7 separate regions of the Homo sapiens genome follow, and regions 2, 3, 4, 5, 6 and 7 are each linked to region 1. The links are contacts of gene promoters, found by promoter capture Hi-C in blood cells and fetal thymus (Javierre and others, 2016). All regions are on one chromosome and are shown on one strand. The core of a region is centred on a gene start or on the middle of the fragment in contact, and the rest is flanking DNA. Distances in the headings are between cores, read along the strand shown. Region 1 holds the start of CFAP276 (cilia and flagella associated protein 276). Region 2 overlaps STXBP3 (syntaxin binding protein 3). Region 3 holds the start of PRPF38B (pre-mRNA processing factor 38B). Region 4 overlaps SYPL2 (synaptophysin like 2). Region 5 has its middle 15 kb from the start of HENMT1. Region 6 overlaps ATXN7L2 (ataxin 7 like 2). Region 7 holds the start of AMIGO1 (adhesion molecule with Ig like domain 1).

Region 1 (2,700 bases), core at 123-2,622:
GGCGGAAAAAAAGGGGAGGGAGGTACACAGGCGGAGGATGCAAGAGGCCAGGCTCGCTTCAGTCACCTCCCTGCGGCTACGCCAACACCGCCCATCCTTCCTCCTCCCTCTGTCCTCTCCTCCTACCCACGTCGCCTTGACAACCGCCTCCTCTCTGGCTCCGCGCGGGTGGGGCAGGGACCACGCGCGCCTCTGCAGCTCACCTGCGGGTCGCCATGGCAGCCGCCGCCGCTGGTGCGCGCGGCGTGGGCGCGGGAGAGCGCGCGCCCGGGGTGCGCAACCGGCCCAACAGGCAGGCCCGGGGCTCGTGTGAAGAACACAGTGGAAGCATCCTCCAAGCCAGCCAACAAATTTCCGTTTTCTACTGCCCTTTCGGGCCAGGGGTTATTTTATGAGCATCTCCGATGTTGCACACGTGGCGTGTGAACCGAGAGAAAGAAGATGGAGAGATCACCCTCCAGACGTCGTCGCCTGGAAGAGGCCCCAGTACGTGTTCCCTCCTACGAAGGCCACTCCTGGAGATCTTACATCCCGCCAAATCCATCCGTGCTTTTACAACCGGCTAGAAGAGAAGCCCTGACACTGTAGTTGATCCGAGTTTAAGCGAGGAGTTTGCCTTAGCCGCAATTTCCCAAGCGCCGCACGTGGGCCTCTCTCTCTCTCTCTCTCTCTCTCTCTCTCTCTCTCTCTCTCTCTCTCTCTTTCTCTCTCTCTCTCTCTCTCTCTGAGACAGGGTCTCACTCTCTCGCCCACACTGGAGTGCAGTGGCGCGATCTCGGCTAACTGCAACCTCCGCCTTCCGGGTTCAAGAGATTCTCCTGGATTAGCCTCCCGAGTAGCTGGGACTACGGGCGCGTGCCACCAAGCCCAGCTAATTTTTTTCCTACTTTTTGTAGAGACGGGGTTTCGCCATGTTGCCCAGACTGGTCTCGAACTCTTGGGCTTAAGCGATCCGCCCGCCTCCGCTTCCCAAAGTGCTGAGATTACAGGCGTGAACCACCGCGCCCGGCCCTCTTTGGTCTCTTGACATCCTCATTCTCTCATGGCTTTGAAAGCCTTTTGTTAGGTGCGAGGGAGAAGGAAATTTCTGGGTCATCTTTCAGGACTTCTTTCCTCAACTGAAGTCTTTTGCAGAAGTCCTGATGGTGAGCAGCCAGCACTTTTCCGCCGAGGCTCAGGAGTGCAATTCCAAGTCTCGGGCCCGCTCAGCGGAACGTTCCCTCTGCAGTCCCCGGAGCTTCCTCCCCAGGGGCCTCCCGTGGTCAGCCGCCAGGTGGCGCCCTCCTCTGAGGGAATTCCTCTGTCATAGATGGCTGGGCAGTTGCCTGGCAACCGAAACCAGCGCTCCAAACAATTGGGACCCGGGATCTTATGCCAGTGAGGCTGTGCTGCGGCTGAGCGGGCCTCCCATCCCTCTTAAAAGAGTTAGGCATTTAGCCATGCCTCCCACCCGGGACCCTTTCCAGCAGCCTACATTAGATAACGATGATTCCTACTTAGGAGAACTGCGGGCTTCCAAGGTACTGTGGTTTCTTGCGCAGATTCCCAGTAGGGTCGCCGGTAGTCTTCTTTCTGTCTGTGTGATGAGCAGAGATGGTAACATAAAGGACTCTGGTGAAGACACTCAGTCGGGTACCAGGGAAGTCTGTTTTCTGCCTGCCTCCCTATCTCCATATTCAAGTCGGCTAACGTTTCAGAGGCGTTTTTGAGCAGAGGAAAGTAGAGTTCTAGTCTAGAGGAACAAGGGGCTCTGGCAGCTCAAATCAATTGTGAGTATAAGTTATGGCAGTGCCCAGGTTCCTTCAAGCTACCCATTTCCCTATTTGGAAGACTGTTCTCTGAAGAGAAATGAGATATGGAGTGGGAGAGAATCCTCTGAAAGCCACCAGAGGTCATGCTTTACACATCTGTGTTCACACTGTCTCTGTCTTCTGGTTAACACCACAATATGTTTGTTATGTGTGTGTTTAGCATGATGGTGGACACTGATTTCGGAACTTAGATGATCTTTTTTCTGGTAGAAGTGATTGGGATATATGAAGTGGTGCACAATAAGATGAATTAAGTGGTGATTGTGGTCTAATAACAATATTGAGAGCCCCTTTTTATTTATTCAATACTTATTTACTATAAGCCAGACACTCTGCTAAACGCCAAGGATATATAAATAAATTAGATGTAGCTTCTGCTGTCAAGGAACTCTAGTAGTAAAGAGAGACCGACAATAGCAAAAATGCTTGCACAATAGCACATGTTGTGACAGAGTTGTGTGCAGGGTGCCGTGAGAACCAGGAACTTAAAGGAAAGCTTCACAGAGCAGATGCATTTTGATGTCCAAATATGAGTTAGGTAGGCCAGGTGAGGGAGTGGATAGAATGTGAGTTAGGAAGAAGGAAACAGGAACCAGATATGCAAGGCAAAGGAAGCAGCAGGTGCAAATACATGGAAAGGAGAGAGAGAATGGCTTATTTGGGGAACTGCAAATAGTCTAGAAGGGCTGGAGTGTAGGCGTGCAATGGAAGCACTCAGAAATCAGAGCTGGAGAGATGCCCTTGGTTGGCTGGGTGTGCTGTGTACACCATGCTAGCTAGCTATGGTTTCATCCTAGGGATGTGAGGAATCATTGTGGGATATTTTTTTTTTTTTGAGACAGGGTCTCCTTGCTCTGTCACCCCAGCTGGAGTGCACTGGTGCAATCTT
Region 2 (2,700 bases), core at 131-2,630, 360 kb after region 1:
ATTTTTTTTCAGAATCTGTAAGTATTTCAAATTTTCATACTAAAACTGATTTAAACTTATAATTATTTGTCTCATTTCTGGTAATAAAGATAAATTTACGAAGTCAGCATTATGCATTTGTAAACATGTACAACAGCTGATTTTATGACATAAATCTTGATATCCATTTTAAAGCGATATATGAAACCATAAACTAAATCAAAATACTGAAGTAAAGCTTGTGTATCAATATACAAAATTGTTTTATATATATATATGTATATATGAGTAAAACATTTAAAGAACAACCTCAACAAAGCAATTAAGTTAGGCTTGGTTAGAGGTCTTAATTATATGTCTCGGCTGAGGGAAAAAAACTGACAGAAGATTCAGAGAAAAGAATGTTAAATCTAATAGTTATGGCTACAGTAATTTAAAAAAATAAGCTCCTTAGAAACACAACTACTAACTAAAATTTAATACCTCAGATCTCCCCCAATTACAATTAAAAAGTGTTCATGCCAAGAATAACACTTACCAGTAATACCTTCTTCTAGAAGATCTGTCATTTTGCAACACGATGCCAAAAGCTTAGTGGTAAATTCATCTAAAAGCATTATCTTAAAACAAACACAAATTTAAAAATACTGTAAGCATCCTATTACCAAGAATGAAAAAAAGAATTTTATCCATTAAACTTTATAAGCCTTTTATAACACAAAATATCAGAACAGTAGGCAAAATGATCTCATCTTTTATCTTGCATGAGCTAGAGATTTTCTCAATATACATGCATATAGTATCGTACATAAGTAAACAAACAGAAATATTTCTAATTTGAAACATAGAGCTTATTCATTTTGAATGACACTGTTTAACATCAAATTTTCTTAAAATTACAATTGCCACTTGTAGAACAATTATTGCACAAAGCACTGTTTTAAGTAATTTCCATGGATTAATTCACCTCATATTTACAATTACCATATGAGGTATTACCATCACCATTTTTATAAACAAGGAAATGGGGCAGAGAGAGGTCAAGTAACTTGTGCAAGGAGCCACAGCTATTAAGTGGTGAAGTTAGTATTTGGAGCCAAGCAGTGTGATTCCAGACCCTATATAGTCATCCCTCGGTATCCATGGGGGTTCGAGGACCCCTGTGTATACCAAAAATCCATGGATGCTCAAATCTCTTATATAAAATAGTGTAGTGTTTGCATGTAACCTACACACATCCTCCCACATACGTCAAATTATCTTTAGATTACTTATACTAGAATACCTAATACCATGTAAATACTATGTAGTTTTTATACTGTATTGTTTTTAAAGTTTGTATTATTTTTTATAAGAGCAAGGTATGCAAACTCTACCTTCCATTCGCCTTCTTTCTTGCAGTCATCAAACACTGTTGCTTTTATCTCTGTTTAAAAAAGAAAGGAATTACTTAGGAATTAAATAAACAGAAACATAGTAATCCAAAGGGTCCAAAATGGCTAAGGAAAAATCCAATTTGAAATTTGTTAAACTACATAAAAAGCATACATATTTGTTAAACCTTACGGAAAAATCCAATTCTAATACCTAGCCTATACAGTACATTTAAACTGTAATCAATTTTTTAACTTTAAAAGGTATTATAAAAAGGGTTAATATATTTAAGTACATGAACGTACCGAGAAAATATTTCTAAAATTATTACCTGATTTGGTTTTTCCTATTCTACTTAAATCCCAAGTAAAACAAGATGAAAACAAAAAACCCACGGGAACATCCTTAAGTTGCCCATTGCTAAATTATATCTGATGATCAAATCTGCATAAACATTTTTCATACTGATTTACTACATTATGCTTTTCAACAATACATATCACAGCATTTGGATACCAATATTCAGTCTTGATTTATAATCAATAAATATGTTCCTTACAATGACTTTCAAAATTATCTAAATATGTTTTAAAAATTAGTTCACTGATTTAAAAACATTTTCCATTATGTATTAAATAATTCATGTGGACAATTTATACAAATATCTGTTCTACTTAATAAAACAATTTCCCACACTATGTTTTATTAATGTTCAATTGATTTTAAAATCGGTAGTAATACATAGTAATACATAAAATATAATTAAAATATAAATTATAGTAACCTATTTTTCATTAAATCTTATTAATGAGATGGTTATTTCATTAACTTAAGCTTTTCTATTTCCTAATTTATATTTAAGTTAATGCTTTTGGGAAATTTATCAACAAGTTTTTGGTAACAAGTCATGTTAAAAACTGACGGCTCTTCTATCAGAGGGTATAAATAATAACAGTTACTGTGGTACAATAAAAAATATTTGGTTTTTACCCCCTGTTCCTAGCACAGAGCCCCTAAAGACCTTGGAATCTCCTGAGTGATAGCATCTCTTCCGTCTGCAAATGAAATGACTCTTGGGTGAGGGGCCCCTATACAGCTTTAGATTGAGGGCTGGTCACCAGACCAAGCCATGTTTAGAGGGTTGGAACTTTCAGCCCCACCCCAGGACCTCTGGGAAAGAAGAGGGACTGGAGATTGAGTTCAATCACCAGTGATGTAATCATTCATGCTTATATAATGAAGCCTCCATAAAAACCCCTTAAGAGAGTTTGGAGAGCTCCCAAGGTGGTGAACAAACCATGTGCCAGGAGGGTGAGACACCCAACTCCATGTGGATAGAAGCACCTA
Region 3 (2,700 bases), core at 42-2,541, 420 kb after region 1:
CTGAGTCAATCCTGCTAACGAAACAAGAACTGAGACAAGAGTGCAGTGAGGAGGCGCCAGGTGAGCTCCCCAGCACAGCCAAGCCAGCACCGACCCTGCCGCAGAAGCCCAGGGCCCAGATAATTCTAAATTAGCCCAATGCACAGGTGGCTGAGACCTCTTACTCCTGACTTCCTGCTGGGAAAATTTCCAGGCCTTCTGTACACCTCTTGAAATGGCACCTCTCCACCCTCATCCCCCCACCCCACCCGACACACACGCACTGACCATTTCCCTGCCTGGATCGGATAGTGAGTACCAACAACACGAGGCCAATACTGAAGTCATTACACGCCCTGGCCAGGGGTGAGCGGGAGAAGCACCAACAAGTTGGCGCTCAGCAGATCCACGTCAAAAGGAATAATTTTAAAGCTGTAAACTGGAAAGGCTTCTGTTACTCTTTCCTCCTCTCCCCCATCCCTCTTGCCCAACTCCCCCCAGGGGTGGGCAGGAGGTTGGGGGAGGAGAGAGATCAATAGTGGCGGGCTCTCCCGGCCCTAAAAATCTAAAATGGAAACGAGAGGGCGGCCCCAGTCCGACCCCTCCCAGACACACTACAGGCCGCAGCCACCCCTCCGCCGAACCACCTTCCCCCACCCACAAATCTTCAGATTTCGGGGGCCGCCTTCGCCCGTTTCCTCCATACCCCCTCTTCCGAACTTACCCCCAAAGCCAAGGCCTACACACTTCGTACCTTAAAGTAGATCTCGTCCACCACCTCGTGGTAGGTCTTGAGCTCGTAGAGCTGTACTTTGAAGTAAGGCGACGACAGGATGTTGGTCAGGATCATGGGGTTGAGGTTCATGGTCTTCTCGTTGCCCCAGAGCGGGAGCACATTGCCCTGCTTGCCGGAGACCGCCGGCTTGGTAGCGCCGCCGCCGCCGCACTGCTGCTGTTGCTGAGCCGCAGCTGCAGCCGCCTGGTGCTGCGGCTGCGAGTTGCCTGTCAGCGCGGGGCTGTTGTTAGCCATGTTGCGGCGGAAGGAAGGAGGGAGGGAAGGAGGGGGGGGAGGGGGCCAAGCTCGATCTCGCTCTTCGGGACAACGGTCTGGGACCCTACTCCATCGAACGTCGTCGGGAGAAGGGGCCGCCTCGCTGTGCCCCAGCTGGGCAAGAGAGGGCACCCGACGCCGACAAAATGACCCCGGGCCAAGAGCAGACAGCGAAACCCAGACCGCGAGAACTCCACGCAGAAGGCGAGCCGGCAGCCAGGGAGCTCGATCTCTTCCGCCAACTGCCCCTGGGAACAAGATGGCGGGCCCGGCGGATATGACGCCACGCACCCCAGCGTTCCAAGCTGAGCTGGCGGCCAATCAGAGACGCTCAGTTGGGCTGGAGCGTCCTCTTCCTAGGTCCCCGCGTTCTCTGCACGCTGAAGTCGCTGCAGTGACCTCCGTACCTGACTCTTAGGGGATTTCTCCTGAGAATTTGGGGGCCGGGGGAGAGGGTTGTAGGCCTAATCCGTTGTTGTTGTATTTTGACTGGGGGCTTGATTTCTTTTGTCGGGAGCTGAGCCAGGAAGGGTTCGCATGGCTGCGGTGTGCTTGCTAATATCGTCACTCTGACTTCTGCAGAGTATCCGAGAGGGGTCTCCTGGGATCTCAGTTTTAAGGTTCTCTGGAAGGTACAATGGTCAGGGACCCCACTCCTCCAGGAGATTCTGATCAAAGGTCACGTACTTCGCCAGCCTCTAGTGTCCAGCCAGAAGTCTTAAATTTATTCATCCGTAAGATTGAGATAACATCTGGCTGGGCTGTTGTGAGCATTGAAAGAGCTAATGTACTTGTAGTGCCTAGTAGACTGTTCCAGGCATCTGGTAGGCGCCTTTTCTTTTTCTCCCTGCTCCAGATCTTTGGATTCTAGGAATGTATCCGGAGTGATAAACATTGGGCGAGATACTGTATATTGGGAGTGGGTGTGTGAATGTGTGGGGAGTTTGAATGTGGCAATCTTGACTTCAGTGGCGCATACACAGGAGGAGAAAAGGATAAGATGGAAACTTTGGGGAAAATCCACATCTGGATGAAAATAAACCAGAAGAGGAGAGAGAGAGAGCGAAGACCAGCAGAAAAGTATTTAAACCAAGAGACAGTTGTTTGACAGAATACAAGGAAATAGAAAAGATAAGTGAATGGAGTGATTGATTAGTGTTTGGAGCTGTACGGTACGAAAGTGGATATCCTGTCTGGTTCCTTTGTTTTAGGTTGCAAGAGAACTAGAACCCTGAGAGGAGAAGCAGTTTTCACCTTCTTACTAGCAAATCTTGTTTTTCTCTATAGTGGTTTTTATTAACTTCCAAAGGAAAACTGAAGATCCTAACCCCTGTGTCATGAGTTATCACGTTAAAAGTCCATAGAAAAAATTTTTTTTAACCCAGTTCTTTTTGTGTATATATTTTTTGCCTTGATAATACTAGTTTATTGAGTTTGCCGAGTGACACATTGCCAAATCTTATGCCCTATTTTTAATTCCTCAGATACATGATCTTTCTGTATAGTCTTAGACAGTCTTTACCCCTAGTCTGTTTGGATGAAGAGCTTGGTAGAGAGGTTGAGTTTGATATCTAAGTGTCAGCGGCATCAAACTCGGAGCCAGGTATTATGATAAAGTGCTTTAACATATTCAGTGAATCCCTACAACAGGCTGAAGATGTTATTTTTAT
Region 4 (2,702 bases), core at 6-2,505, 360 kb before region 1:
GTTGCCAGATCTCTCCATTGGGCATGACTTGGGGACCACAGGTAGCCTCCTTAAGATGACTAACACAAAACCTCTGCAATTCAGGCTTTAGGAAACTTCTAGCTTACAGATAGACTTGAATTTCCTTCCCAAGGGAGAGACACACTCAAAAAGATTCCCCTGCATCAACCTAGATCAGACATGCCTAGAACGCTTTTCATTTCTCCTTTGAACTAGTCATCTAATCTTGTTTCCTAGTTGCTAACTTCCAGTGGCTTCCTGCCTTGGTGGAGGTATAGCTGGAGGGGCCAGCTTCTACCAAGCCACCCCAGATGGGCCATACTACTGTCCCATAGTACTGACAGCCTAATTCCTCTTCCCCAAAAGGCACATGGCCTTCTAGCAATAGTGCTGGCTGGGCCAATGTGACAATCTTGGCTCAAGCCCAGAGAAAAGTACCCTCCACTTGCCTTATCAGTCTCCACTGTTTCCCCACTGGTATTTCCCTTTGTCATCTGTTGATGCTGCCATTTCTCAGTGTTAAGATCCAGAGGTGTCTCAGGTCACTCGAATTGTTTTCTTCTCCACCTTTCCTCACATTTTACTACACCTTCTCTCTCAAGTGAAATAAAATTTCCTCATCCTATGATTTTCAGATTTCTTTCTGGGAAACACACTTTGGTTAGAAAAGGAGGTGAGAGGCCAGGTGCGGTGGCTCACACCTGTAATCCCAGCACTTTGGGAGGCTGAGGCGGGTGGATCATTTGAGGTCAGGAGTTTGAGACCAACCTGGCCAACATGGTGAAACCCCATATCTACTAAAAATACAAAAATCAGCCTGGCGGTAGAGTGTCGCATGCCTGTAATCTCAGCTACTTGGGAGGCTGAGGCAGGAGAATCACTTGAACCCGGGAGGCGGAGGTTGCAGTGAGCCGAGATCGTGCCACTGCACTCCAGCCTGGCAACAGAATGAGACCTTGTCCCTCTCCCGCCCACCGCCAAAAAAAAAAAAAAAAAGAAAAGAAAAGAAAAGAAAAAAGAAAAGGAGGTGAGAAATTGAAATGTCTTATCCTCCACATCATCTGCTCAGATTGGATTTCCTGTGCACTTACCTTTGACTTGTACACAATGTCATGTTCTTATTAAGCAATGAGCTTATTCTCTTAATTGTTCACTCTCTGTATCTTTCTTCGAGACTCAGTGTCTTGGACATTAAGCACTTGGAAGACAGCTGATCTGTATGTCAGCCCTGCATCCAGAGTCTAGAATAGAAGCTATATGCACTTTATTTTGCCAATGCTTGTTAGCATTATGGAGTGAAAGGAGACCTGAACTAGGAGTATGGAAACCTAGGTTCCAGACCTGGTCCTGTCACTAATTAGCCAGGTGAGCTCTGATAAGTCACTCTGCTCTCTGAGTCTGTTTCCTCATCTTTTTTTTTTTTTTTAGATGGAGTCTTGCTCTGTCGCCCAGGCTGGAGTGTAGTGGCGCAATCTTGGCTCACTGCAAGCTGCACCTCCTGCGTTCACACCATTCTCCTGCCTCAGCCTGTTGAGTAGCTGGGACTATAGGCGCCCACCACCATGCCCAGCTAATTTTTTGTATTTTTTTTAGTAGAGACGGGTTTTCACCGTGTTAGCCAGGATGGTCTCGGTCTCCTGACCTTGTGATCCGCCCGCCTCAACCTCCCAAAGTGCTGGGATTATAGGCATGAGCCCAGCCTGTTTCCTCATCTTAAATGGAGGGGTTTGGAGTAGATAATCTAGAGGCCCTTTCCAGCCCTGGAACTCTCTCACTCTCTGAGAGTAACACTGTCAGTGTACTCTTGACTGGGCTTGCCAACAGCTGTGCTTTGCCCCTGCGAGGTGTCCAGTGCCACTGCCCCCGGCTTGCAGCGCCTGGCCTTGCAGATCTCCATGCTGGAGCCATTGGCCTCTCTCCAAATAATGGGCACCTCTCTGTTTTCAGGAGGTTTATTCCAGACAAATGAGAATTGTCTCCATGTTTAAAGATATCTGGGAAAGAAGACAGTAAAACCTCCCTCCAATGCCTAAATACCCTCCTCTCCTGAATTAAATGATGAAGACTGCAGTAGAGCCCTGTCTGCCCGCCTTCTTCACAGAGGTAGAGAAGAGTCACTCGAAGCCTCTGCATCATTACCCTTTACTTACTCAAAGTGGCCTCACCATTGTAATAGTGGAACTTCTCTAACTCTTCCTCATAGGAATTCGCTAATCTTTTGTCAGTTCTGTGGCCATCTGATTCCTCTTAGAAGTTTCTTTATTCCTCTTAGCTTCTGGTGCCCAGAACTGGATGTGATTAGGGTGTCACATTCTGGGAAGGGCAGCACAGTTGGAAATATTTTTACCCGTTGGCAGTTAGTCAGTGAATGGCTCCTTATAGGTTCCTTAAGAAAGCAGGGGCCGGGCATGGTGGCTCACAGCTGTAATCCCAGCAGTTTGGGAGGCCAAGCAGGAGAATGGCTTGAGCCCAGGAATTTGAGACTAGCAACATATAGGCAACATAGCAAGACCCTCCCCTACAGAAACTACAAACAAAAAATTAGCTGGGCATGGTGGTGCCTGCTAATAGTCCCAGTTACTCAGGAGGCTGATGGGGAGGAATCACTTGAGCCCAGGAGTTCAAGGCTGCAGTGAGCTATGATCATGCCACTGCACTCCAGGCTGGGCAACAGAACAAGACCCCCATCTCAAAAAAAAAAA
Region 5 (2,700 bases), core at 185-2,684, 470 kb after region 1:
GTAATTGCTGTCCATGTTTTGTTGTTGTTGTTGTTGTTTTTTTGAGACAGGGTCTTGTTCTGTTACCCAGGCTGGAGTGCAGTGGCACAATCATGGCTCATTGTAGCCTCAGCCTCTGGGCTAAAATAATCCTCCCACCTCACCTCCTCCCCACCAGTAGCTTGAACTACTGGCATGTACCACCATGCCCAGCTAATTAAAAATTTGTAGAGATAGGGTCTCACTATGTTGCCCAGACTGGTCTTGAACTTCTGGGCTCAAGTGGTCCTCCTGCCTCAGCTTCCCAAAGTGCTGGGATTGTTTTTTGAGCACCCTCTTCTGAGGATGGAATTGGGGTGGTAGTACTTCTCTGGTTGGAATTGGGGTGGTAGTACTAATGGGAGAAAGAAACATAGCTTCACCTCATGGGGGAAAACAGTAGTTTAAATGAGAGGCATTTCTTAGGCACAGGAGTCCAGAGGTAAGCCCCAGGCATGGGAGCTCTGCCACTTTTGGGACCCAGACGTCCATCTTGCATGTTGTGGCTACTTAGTATGCCATCCAGGGACAGAGAGAGAGATTTGAGCTCTGGCTACTACTTTCATATTCTGAAACAGCAGAAAGAAGAGAAGGGACAAAGGGCACACACAAGCTGTCTGGTAAAGCTTGCTGTGGGTTGTTACGCAACACGACTGCTTACTTCCTGTTGATCAGAATGTGGTCTTCAGGCCACACAAAGGGAAGCTGATATATTAGTCTGTTCTTGCATTGCTGTAAAGAAATAGCAGAGACTGGGTAATAAAGAGGTTTATTGGCTCATGGTTCCACAGAGTGTACAGGAAGCATAGCAGCTTCTGCTTCTGGGGAGGCCTCAGGAAACTTCCAGTAATGGCAGAAGGCAAAGGGTTGGGGCGGGGCGAGGCATCTCACATGGTGGGAACAGGAGCAAGGCGGAGCGAGGGGTGGTGCTGAACACGTTTAAGCAGGTCTTGGGCGGACTCTGTCACGAGAACAGCACTAAGGGGATGGTGCGAAACCATTCACAAAGGACCCACCCCCATGATCACTTCCCAGCAGGCCCCTCCTTCAATATCAGGGATTACAGTTTGACATGAGATTTGAATGGGGACACAGATCCAAACCGTATCAGCTGCGAAATACAGTTTTTATTCTGGGAGGTCATGTGTCCACTTGGTCTGCCAAGGAACAAGGGGAGAAGGAACACTGGCAAATAACCATCTGTGCCACAGCTAGGACATCCTGAGCGGTCTGGAATGGGGGCTATGGAGATGCAGAGTTGGTGCCTGGGAGAGGGCTGGGGGGAGTAATTCTCAAGCTGAGTTTCCAAGGGTTAATAATTAAGCAGATGGGAAGGGGATTTGGTGAGGGGGGAGAGAATTGAGGGATTCTGATGAGAACCGTCTTTTAATCACATTACATTGGTAAACCAGCTGTTTTTTCCTTGAATTTCTAATACTGCTATCAGACTTCCCCCATGAATGCTCAAAGGTGCACATGAACAAGAGATTTGTAGCCCCACCCTATTCCTGCTCTCAAAGGCCCTCTGTCCGTCCTCACCTTTCTAGGCCTCTGCAGTTTTCACTCTAGAGTTCCCTTCTCATCATTGCTCTTCTGTGGTAGAGCCAAGGTTTCTAGCCAAGACCAGCCGTTTCTCTGATCTTTCTTGAAAGTTAATCAGTTAACTTTGTTCGAGCCTAATCACTGGAGCCCCCATGTGGAAACATTTTAAGTGCTCATGACTGCCATGGGGGCTGGAGCTGCTCTTCCCCATGGCCTTCCCGCTCTCTCTGCGGCTTCTGTACCTACGTTCTTCTTGAGAAGTTTGTCTTTCCCCCAACCTGGATACAGGCCTTTCTTTGCACACTGAAAGGCTCATTAATACTTGAGGTCAGGGGTTGCCAGACGTGCTTTTGGGGCTAGACAGTAAATCTTTGCAGGTGATCCAGTCTCTATCACAACTATTCAACTCTGCTTGAGTCAAAGCCACCACAGACAATGTGAAAACAAGTGCGCTGAGCAGGAGACAGAGTTTAATCTGCAGTCTTCTTTGAGAGAAGGTTCTCACTGCCACTGCCCACCTCCCAGACTAGATACGAAATCTGCACTACCAGGTATTGAAACCTCCCTGGCCCTTGAGATCTGAATATAATTTGCCTCCAACTCCTATTTCCATAGTCTGGGTAACTCCAAAACTCTGAGACTTCTATGATTTCCTAAAAGCTTACGTTATCACAGCACTGCCTGCCTTCAAGTTCAGTTCCATACAACTGAGATGTGAATCTCAGCCCCTTCTATGCTGCTCCGAGGCTCCTCAAACACATCCCACCTTACCCTCCTTCTCATCTGGCAGCAGCTCCCAGCTCACCTTCCCCAGCTGCCCTCGCTTGCCCCACCCCCTCCCCTCCTTTCCTGTGACTGCCAACCTGCTGCCCCACGGCACGCCCAGCAGTTCAGCTCCCTTCAAGTGTTCTCAGCCCTCAGTTCTGCCAGCGGTTATCAAGGGAGAACTCCAAATAAAGGCAATTTCTTCAACTAGAGTTTGGGTGCCAAGAACATTAAATCTTTATCTCGTTATGCCTGGTCCTGTGGAGACTGTGTGTCGAGCAGTTGACAGGAAGTCAGGGACTGAGCAGTGTCAGCAGTGGCAATGTGGTCTTTTGAAGACTGAGAACTGTGGGTTTCTGCCTTCATGAAGGATGC
Region 6 (2,705 bases), core at 139-2,638, 380 kb before region 1:
TTGGCCTTCACTGGCCGGCAATAAGTGGCCAGGTTTTTCCGCTTCTTGGCCACCTCCTCCTCAGAGAGGCAGTTGGTTGGCAGGGCCTTGGCTGGGTGTCCAGCTGCTCCCCGGTTCTCCAGCTGAGAAGCCTTGACTGGTGTGGGGAGCTGATGAGGGGAGCCACGACAGTCCAGGGGCCCTGCCCGCTTCACTCTTGGCCCCATTGTCCCATTAAGCCCCATGCTCAGGGCTGTTTTAGTTTTGGCCGAGAGGCCCCTACAGCCAGAGGGTTTCCCTTTTCCAGTGGGCTCCAGGATGCAGGTCCGTTTAAGAGTGGTAGGGCCAGGGGATAACTTCCGCTTTCGAGAAGGGGCCTCCACCTCCACCCCGTCCTTGCCTTTGGATGACTTGCTGGCCTTGGAAGGCGGCAGCTTGCTGAAGGACGGGGATGGCGTGTTGGCAGGCAGTGGTGAGGTGATAGCCTGGCTCCCGCCCATGCACTCTGCCTGGCTACAGGCAGCCGCCACGCTGGGGGAGCCTGCAGGGTAGCTGGGGACAAGGTTGTCCTTGGTGGGGGGCATGGAGGCTGGGCAGGCAGGTCTCAGGGTTGGACCTGGAAGGCGGGGGCAGGTGCCTGTAGAGGATGGGCTCAGGGGAGCAGATAACGGGGAGTTGACAAGGTGAGCTGGAGGTTCAGCTGCCGGTGGGATCTTCCTGCAGCAAAAAGAAAGCCCCACTGTGACTGCCAAGAAACAAGACAGCTTCCCCCAACACAAGACACACTCCAGTCTCTCTGCCCCACCTAGAAATGGTCAGCAGAGCCCCAGAGTTGCTGCCATCTGCTGGGAGATGCTGGAACTGAGGGTTAGGAAGAAGACACAGGGGTGCCTGTGGAGAGGAATTAGCTAGTACCTACTAACTAGGAGGCAGCCCACTAGGAACTTCATTTTAAATCTTGGTTTGGGCATCCCCTATCCCTAGTTACCCAAAAGGTACTGGAAGTGATGGATGAAAGTCTAGATTCACCCCCAGACCACCCTTCCATGCCCTGCCTTAGCCAAACTCTAGGCTGCCAAGTTTTCCCACCTCCTTTTCATGCTACTCCCTATCTGGGGTCCTGCTGGCAAATAGCCAAGGCACACCTATGGGTATACAGGAAAGATCAGGGCTTCTGAAGCCCAAGTATGTCTGGAACCTAGGAATTTCCATTCTAGAACTTCCATTCTGGGTCCGAGAGACTTACTTCCACATGTGTGTGCTGAGGTGCCGTTCCAGCATGGAGCTGAGTGCTGAGCAGAACCGGTCCAGCCGGCGGCTAAACACATAGCATCCTGGGCTCACCAGCCGGCTCCCAAAGGTGCAGAACTAAAGGCAGAAGGAAGGTGCATGGTTGGCAGGGTCTGGGGTGCACAGACAGCATCTGCACACAGGATCTGGCCTCCTCCCCATGTTGTTGGCCAGGAGTGCTGGGCCACCCCCTCCATAGGCCCCTATTCCAGGTCCTTACCGCCTGTGGCCGTGGGGGCCGGGTTGCATAATGGCAGTCAGGGGGTGGGTGGAGGTCGTCAGATGTCCCCTCCTCCTCACTCTCTTCGCTGGAGGCCTGGGTCCCACCCCGGGGCATGGGGAAGGGGAACAGGCCTGGGTCCCCATCACCACCACAGGGGCCTTCATCATCCAATTCACTCTCGGAGGAGGCCCGGGACCTGGAAGGGCCAAAAGGGATGCCAGGGGAATGTGACTGTTGTGGGGTCAGAGTAGGGGCATCCTTGAACCTGCCGAGCTCAAAGAGCAGGGCACCAGGGCAGACACCCTGCAGGGCAATCAGAAGAGGACAGAGGGAAGGGAAGGACAGGAGGGAACGACACAGCTCACAGAGTAAGAGACAGAGAGACTGCTCCCAAGGGATTCTCTCCCCAGCCCCTTCACCTCCCAGCCCCTTCCTCCTCAGGGGATAATCTGCTGCAGATCCGCCTCCTCCAGAAAATCTTCACAGTTAAAACTGTACCCAGCTCTGGTCAGCCCAGTCAACTCGCTCAACCCCCTTCTTGCATCACATATTCCTGTGAGCCTGTCTGTGAGCTGAGCCTGTGTTTCGTGTCTGCCCCTTGTGTGACAGGCAGAGATGCATGTGTGTCTCCTTCAGCAAGTCAGGCTCTCCCTGGGGTCCGGCATAGCCTCTGCACGCGAAGGGGCCAGTGAGTGAATACACATAGGGCTGCCTTGCCCAGGAGTGTGACCCTTTCAGCTCCCCAGTGACAAGTTTCGGTCTGTTGGAGGCAGCTGGGAAAATGTTCATATCCTGAGTGTTGGATCTGGCACACTGCCGAGAGGCTGGGGTGCTGTGGTATGCCTGGTTGGAAACAGGGGAGTCTCCTGCTTCCACACCACTGTCAGGAGCCCCAGGAATACCCCCACACTCAGGGCTGAGGGAGTGCCTCTTCCAGGACACTCCCTGAGCCTGTTTCCAGGGGCCCCTGATGGCTTAGGGGCCAAGTACCCCCAGGTGAGGTAGGGGTTGGATTCTAGACGTACCTGGGCAGTGCACAGTATGGGTAGGTCTGCTTGGCACGAACAGAGAAGGTGCTGCTGGGAGCAGCCACCGCTGCTACAACCTGGACTGAGGAGGGGAGCTCCTGGGAGGGGCGCTCGAGAACTTGCTCCTTGCGCCCTGGGCTCTTCTCCTTGGGAGACTCCCCTTTGCGGGAGTTGGCCTTCAGCTC
Region 7 (2,700 bases), core at 71-2,570, 400 kb before region 1:
ACTCCTGGGTTCAAGCAATCCTCCTGCCGCAGCCTCCCAAAGTGCTGGGATTACAGGTGTGAGCCACTGCACCTTGCAGAAAGACCTTTTCACACTATGCATAAGATTAACACGCTAATACTCCTTGAAGAGATAATATATTCACTAAAATTCATGGTAAAACATGTGACAGATATAAATTCTTTTTAAAACTCTTAGCAAGCTAATCTACTGAGACATTAATTTCAGTCTTGATCTTGCTGTTATAAGAGACTGGAACAAATAAAAAGGTAATTTCTTATGGTCCACCATCTCAAGAACAGCTAACATCTTGAATGATAAGGTCTAGGCTCTTCCTGCATCTCTCTCTTTCCTCACCCCCAAACCCAAACAACATACACTAGTAACAGCTTCTTGTTGTTTCAGGGGCCACCCTAAAGAAGAAACCCCTCCACCTCCACCACTGGCCTTCATCTTGAGGATTAGGTAACAGAGAAACTATGTTGCAATTGCTCCATAAGGGGAGTGGGGAGCTGGCACTGGTTTAGGAAGAAGGCAAGTGGCCAGACCTAAGGGCTGAATGACTTCCTCCGGGCTGGGAAGGGTTTCGGAGTTTCCAGGAATGGAAATTGTCCCTGGCTTGTATGCAGTCCGTGTGTGTGTGTGTGTGTGTGTGTGTGTGTGTGTGTGTGTGTGTAGCAGGTGGAGTGGGGAGAGGTGCATGAGGTGTCTGTAAAGGGGTGTTCTGGGGCCTGGGCTCACCAAACACCCCCTTTCCCCTCACTCCTGCGCAGCTGGCTTGCAGGCTAAGGAGCTGTGCCCTTCAGTGGTACCTCAAGGGTCATGAACTAGTAGCATCAAGACGGGGGTGGGGTGGGGGGAACCCCTCCCCCAATTTTTGAGACCCCACAGCCACAGAGAGAAGGGAGGGGGAACCTCAGAATGTGACTAATGAATTTCCCGCCAACATTGGCAGGCGGGAGCTGAGCCAGATTTCTTCAATTTGCGAAATTAAAAGACATGTGACGCCTCTTGCCCGAGTAGGTGCAGCGAATTCACTTTAGTTAGACTTTTCCTGAGAGCCGGTCTGTGTAGCGAGAAGGGTGCTGGGAGATGGGGGAATGGGGGATGGAGGAAGTTATAGCGGAGCCTAAGGGGCCAGTGCCGCTCTTCCTGCCAATTTTCGTCTTTAGCTCAGCGTCCGGAGCTCGCTGGTTGAGGGAACGACCCCGCGCGCGTCCGCCCGGCCGGCTCCGACACAAACACACGCACGTGCGCCCCGCCCCCGCCGCGCGCACGCGCCCCGAGGCTCCGGCGGCGGCGACGGGCGCGCGCGCGGTGCTCGCTGCCCCCACGCCGCTCCCTCCGCTGGGATCGCTGCGCCTCCGGCTCCCCGCACCGATCCGCGCCAGGCCTGCGGACCTGGAGGCAGCGACCGCGGTCGGTGGGCTCCGGCGGGCTCAGCGGTCGAGGCGGTGGCAGGGTGAGCGGAGCGGGGCCCCGCAAGTCCCCGGGAGGCGACGGTGCCGGGCGCGGGCCCCTGCGTAAGGTGGGCGCAGTGACAGGCCGGCCGGTGAGGCGCCGCCGGGAGAGGCCGCGACGGAGCTCCCAGACCGGCCATGGGCTGAGACACGTCCTCGCCGAGCAGGTGCAGTGACCGGAGGCCCCGGGGGGAGCCCGCCCCTACAGGCCCCGGGGACCCTCAACCCCGACCGGACGCGTCCTACCCAGCCCGGTGCCCTGTTGACCTTCCCTCAGCTCCTCCCAAAAGGCACACCGACCCCACCTCCAAACCCTGCCCGTGCCATCCCTGTGACTCCCAGCAGTCCCTGCCATCCTGTGCATACCTGCAGCCTGCACCCCTGTGACCCCAGCCCAGTAGGCCCTCGGGCCACCTCCTCTTCGGCCGATATTTACAGCCCACTGCCTGCACAGTGCCTGGAAACTACCCAGCATCTCTCTCTCCTAGCCCAAAGGGGGTGGAGGTAAGGGTGGGAGGGGAAGTGGGAGAGGGTGTCCTTCCCTCTGGAGTCCTTGGTGACCACAAACCCATCCTCTTTCTCTCAAGTGACCCTTCCGTACCCCACCAGAACATGCCCGGGTGACCTCCTCCCAGATCTTCCTTGTGGCCTTCCTCGCCCACTCCAGTGACACTATGCACCCCCACCGTGACCCGAGAGGCCTCTGGCTCCTGCTGCCGTCCTTGTCCCTGCTGCTTTTTGAGGTGGCCAGAGCTGGCCGAGCCGTGGTTAGCTGTCCTGCCGCCTGCTTGTGCGCCAGCAACATCCTCAGCTGCTCCAAGCAGCAGCTGCCCAATGTGCCCCATTCCTTGCCCAGTTACACAGCACTACTGGACCTCAGTCACAACAACCTGAGCCGCCTGCGGGCCGAGTGGACCCCCACGCGCCTGACCCAACTGCACTCCCTGCTGCTGAGCCACAACCACCTGAACTTCATCTCCTCTGAGGCCTTTTCCCCGGTACCCAACCTGCGCTACCTGGACCTCTCCTCCAACCAGCTGCGTACACTGGATGAGTTCCTGTTCAGTGACCTGCAAGTACTGGAGGTGCTGCTGCTCTACAATAACCACATCATGGCGGTGGACCGGTGCGCCTTCGATGACATGGCCCAGCTGCAGAAACTCTACTTGAGCCAGAACCAGATCTCTCGCTTCCCTCTGGAACTGGTCAAGGAAGGAGCCAAGCTACCCAAACTAACGCT

What was found. Contacts are between HindIII fragments. The CHiCAGO score rates a contact against its expected background, and 5 or more counts as called.
Region 2: a fragment that was not itself captured here is called in contact with the fragment with the promoter of CFAP276 in region 1 in 3 of 17 cell types (naive CD4 T cells, erythroblasts and non-activated CD4 T cells); the score reaches 6.3 in naive CD4 T cells.
Region 3: the fragment with the promoter of PRPF38B here is called in contact with the fragment with the promoter of CFAP276 in region 1 in 3 of 17 cell types (naive CD4 T cells, total CD8 T cells and naive CD8 T cells); the score reaches 6.5 in naive CD4 T cells.
Region 4: a contact is called between a fragment that was not itself captured here and the fragment with the promoter of CFAP276 in region 1, in 1 of 17 cell types (endothelial precursors). The highest score is 6.4, in endothelial precursors.
Region 5: a contact is called between a fragment that was not itself captured here and the fragment with the promoter of CFAP276 in region 1, in 1 of 17 cell types (naive CD4 T cells). The highest score is 5.0, in naive CD4 T cells.
Region 6: a fragment that was not itself captured here is called in contact with the fragment with the promoter of CFAP276 in region 1 in 1 of 17 cell types (M2 macrophages); the score reaches 5.5 in M2 macrophages.
Region 7: a contact is called between the fragment with the promoter of AMIGO1 here and the fragment with the promoter of CFAP276 in region 1, in 1 of 17 cell types (M2 macrophages). The highest score is 5.3, in M2 macrophages.

Annotation. Positions count from the first base shown.
Region 1 is chr1:109,111,419-109,114,118 of GRCh38, reverse strand. CFAP276 (cilia and flagella associated protein 276) reads left to right here and starts at 1,372. Exons shown (of 5, transcript NM_001245025.3): 1 at 1,372-1,520. The coding sequence starts at 1,440. It overlaps ELAPOR1 (endosome-lysosome associated apoptosis and autophagy regulator 1), which reads right to left and starts at 4. Exons shown (of 22, transcript NM_020775.5): 1 at 1-4. RefSeq lists a silencer at 183-252. The HindIII fragment of the contact is 3,574 bases long and covers 1-2,309 here.
Region 2 is chr1:108,750,962-108,753,661 of GRCh38, reverse strand. STXBP3 (syntaxin binding protein 3) reads right to left here. Exons shown (of 19, transcript NM_007269.4): 2 at 1,356-1,405; 3 at 518-599. Among named protein-coding and RNA genes, the nearest start is that of STXBP3, 5.6 kb to the right of the region's middle. The HindIII fragment of the contact is 1,618 bases long and covers 572-2,189 here.
Region 3 is chr1:108,690,901-108,693,600 of GRCh38, reverse strand. It overlaps PRPF38B (pre-mRNA processing factor 38B), which reads right to left and starts at 1,291. Exons shown (of 6, transcript NM_018061.4): 1 at 734-1,291. The coding sequence starts at 1,009. RefSeq lists enhancers at 1-389, 1,040-1,369, 952-1,512, 1,450-1,639. The HindIII fragment of the contact is 12,264 bases long and covers 1-2,700 here.
Region 4 is chr1:109,472,618-109,475,319 of GRCh38, reverse strand. All of the region lies in intron 2 of SYPL2 (synaptophysin like 2), which reads right to left. Among named protein-coding and RNA genes, the nearest start is that of SYPL2, 7.4 kb to the right of the region's middle. The HindIII fragment of the contact is 4,024 bases long and covers 1-2,702 here.
Region 5 is chr1:108,644,982-108,647,681 of GRCh38, reverse strand. No RefSeq gene overlaps it. Among named protein-coding and RNA genes, the nearest start is that of HENMT1, 15 kb to the left of the region's middle. The HindIII fragment of the contact is 1,576 bases long and covers 647-2,222 here.
Region 6 is chr1:109,488,913-109,491,617 of GRCh38, reverse strand. ATXN7L2 (ataxin 7 like 2) reads right to left here. Exons shown (of 11, transcript NM_001350175.2): 7 at 2,518-2,705; 8 at 1,490-1,688; 9 at 1,226-1,347; 10 at 1-696. Among named protein-coding and RNA genes, the nearest start is that of CYB561D1, 3.8 kb to the left of the region's middle. RefSeq lists a silencer at 712-761. The HindIII fragment of the contact is 4,525 bases long and covers 1-2,705 here.
Region 7 is chr1:109,508,347-109,511,046 of GRCh38, reverse strand. It overlaps AMIGO1 (adhesion molecule with Ig like domain 1), which reads left to right and starts at 1,320. Exons shown (of 2, transcript NM_020703.4): 1 at 1,320-1,627; 2 at 2,048-2,700. The coding sequence starts at 2,135. It overlaps LOC105378893 (a long non-coding RNA gene), which reads left to right. Exons shown (of 3, transcript XR_001738179.2): 3 at 406-445. RefSeq lists silencers at 1,317-1,436, 1,497-1,646, 1,657-1,716. The HindIII fragment of the contact is 14,739 bases long and covers 1-2,700 here.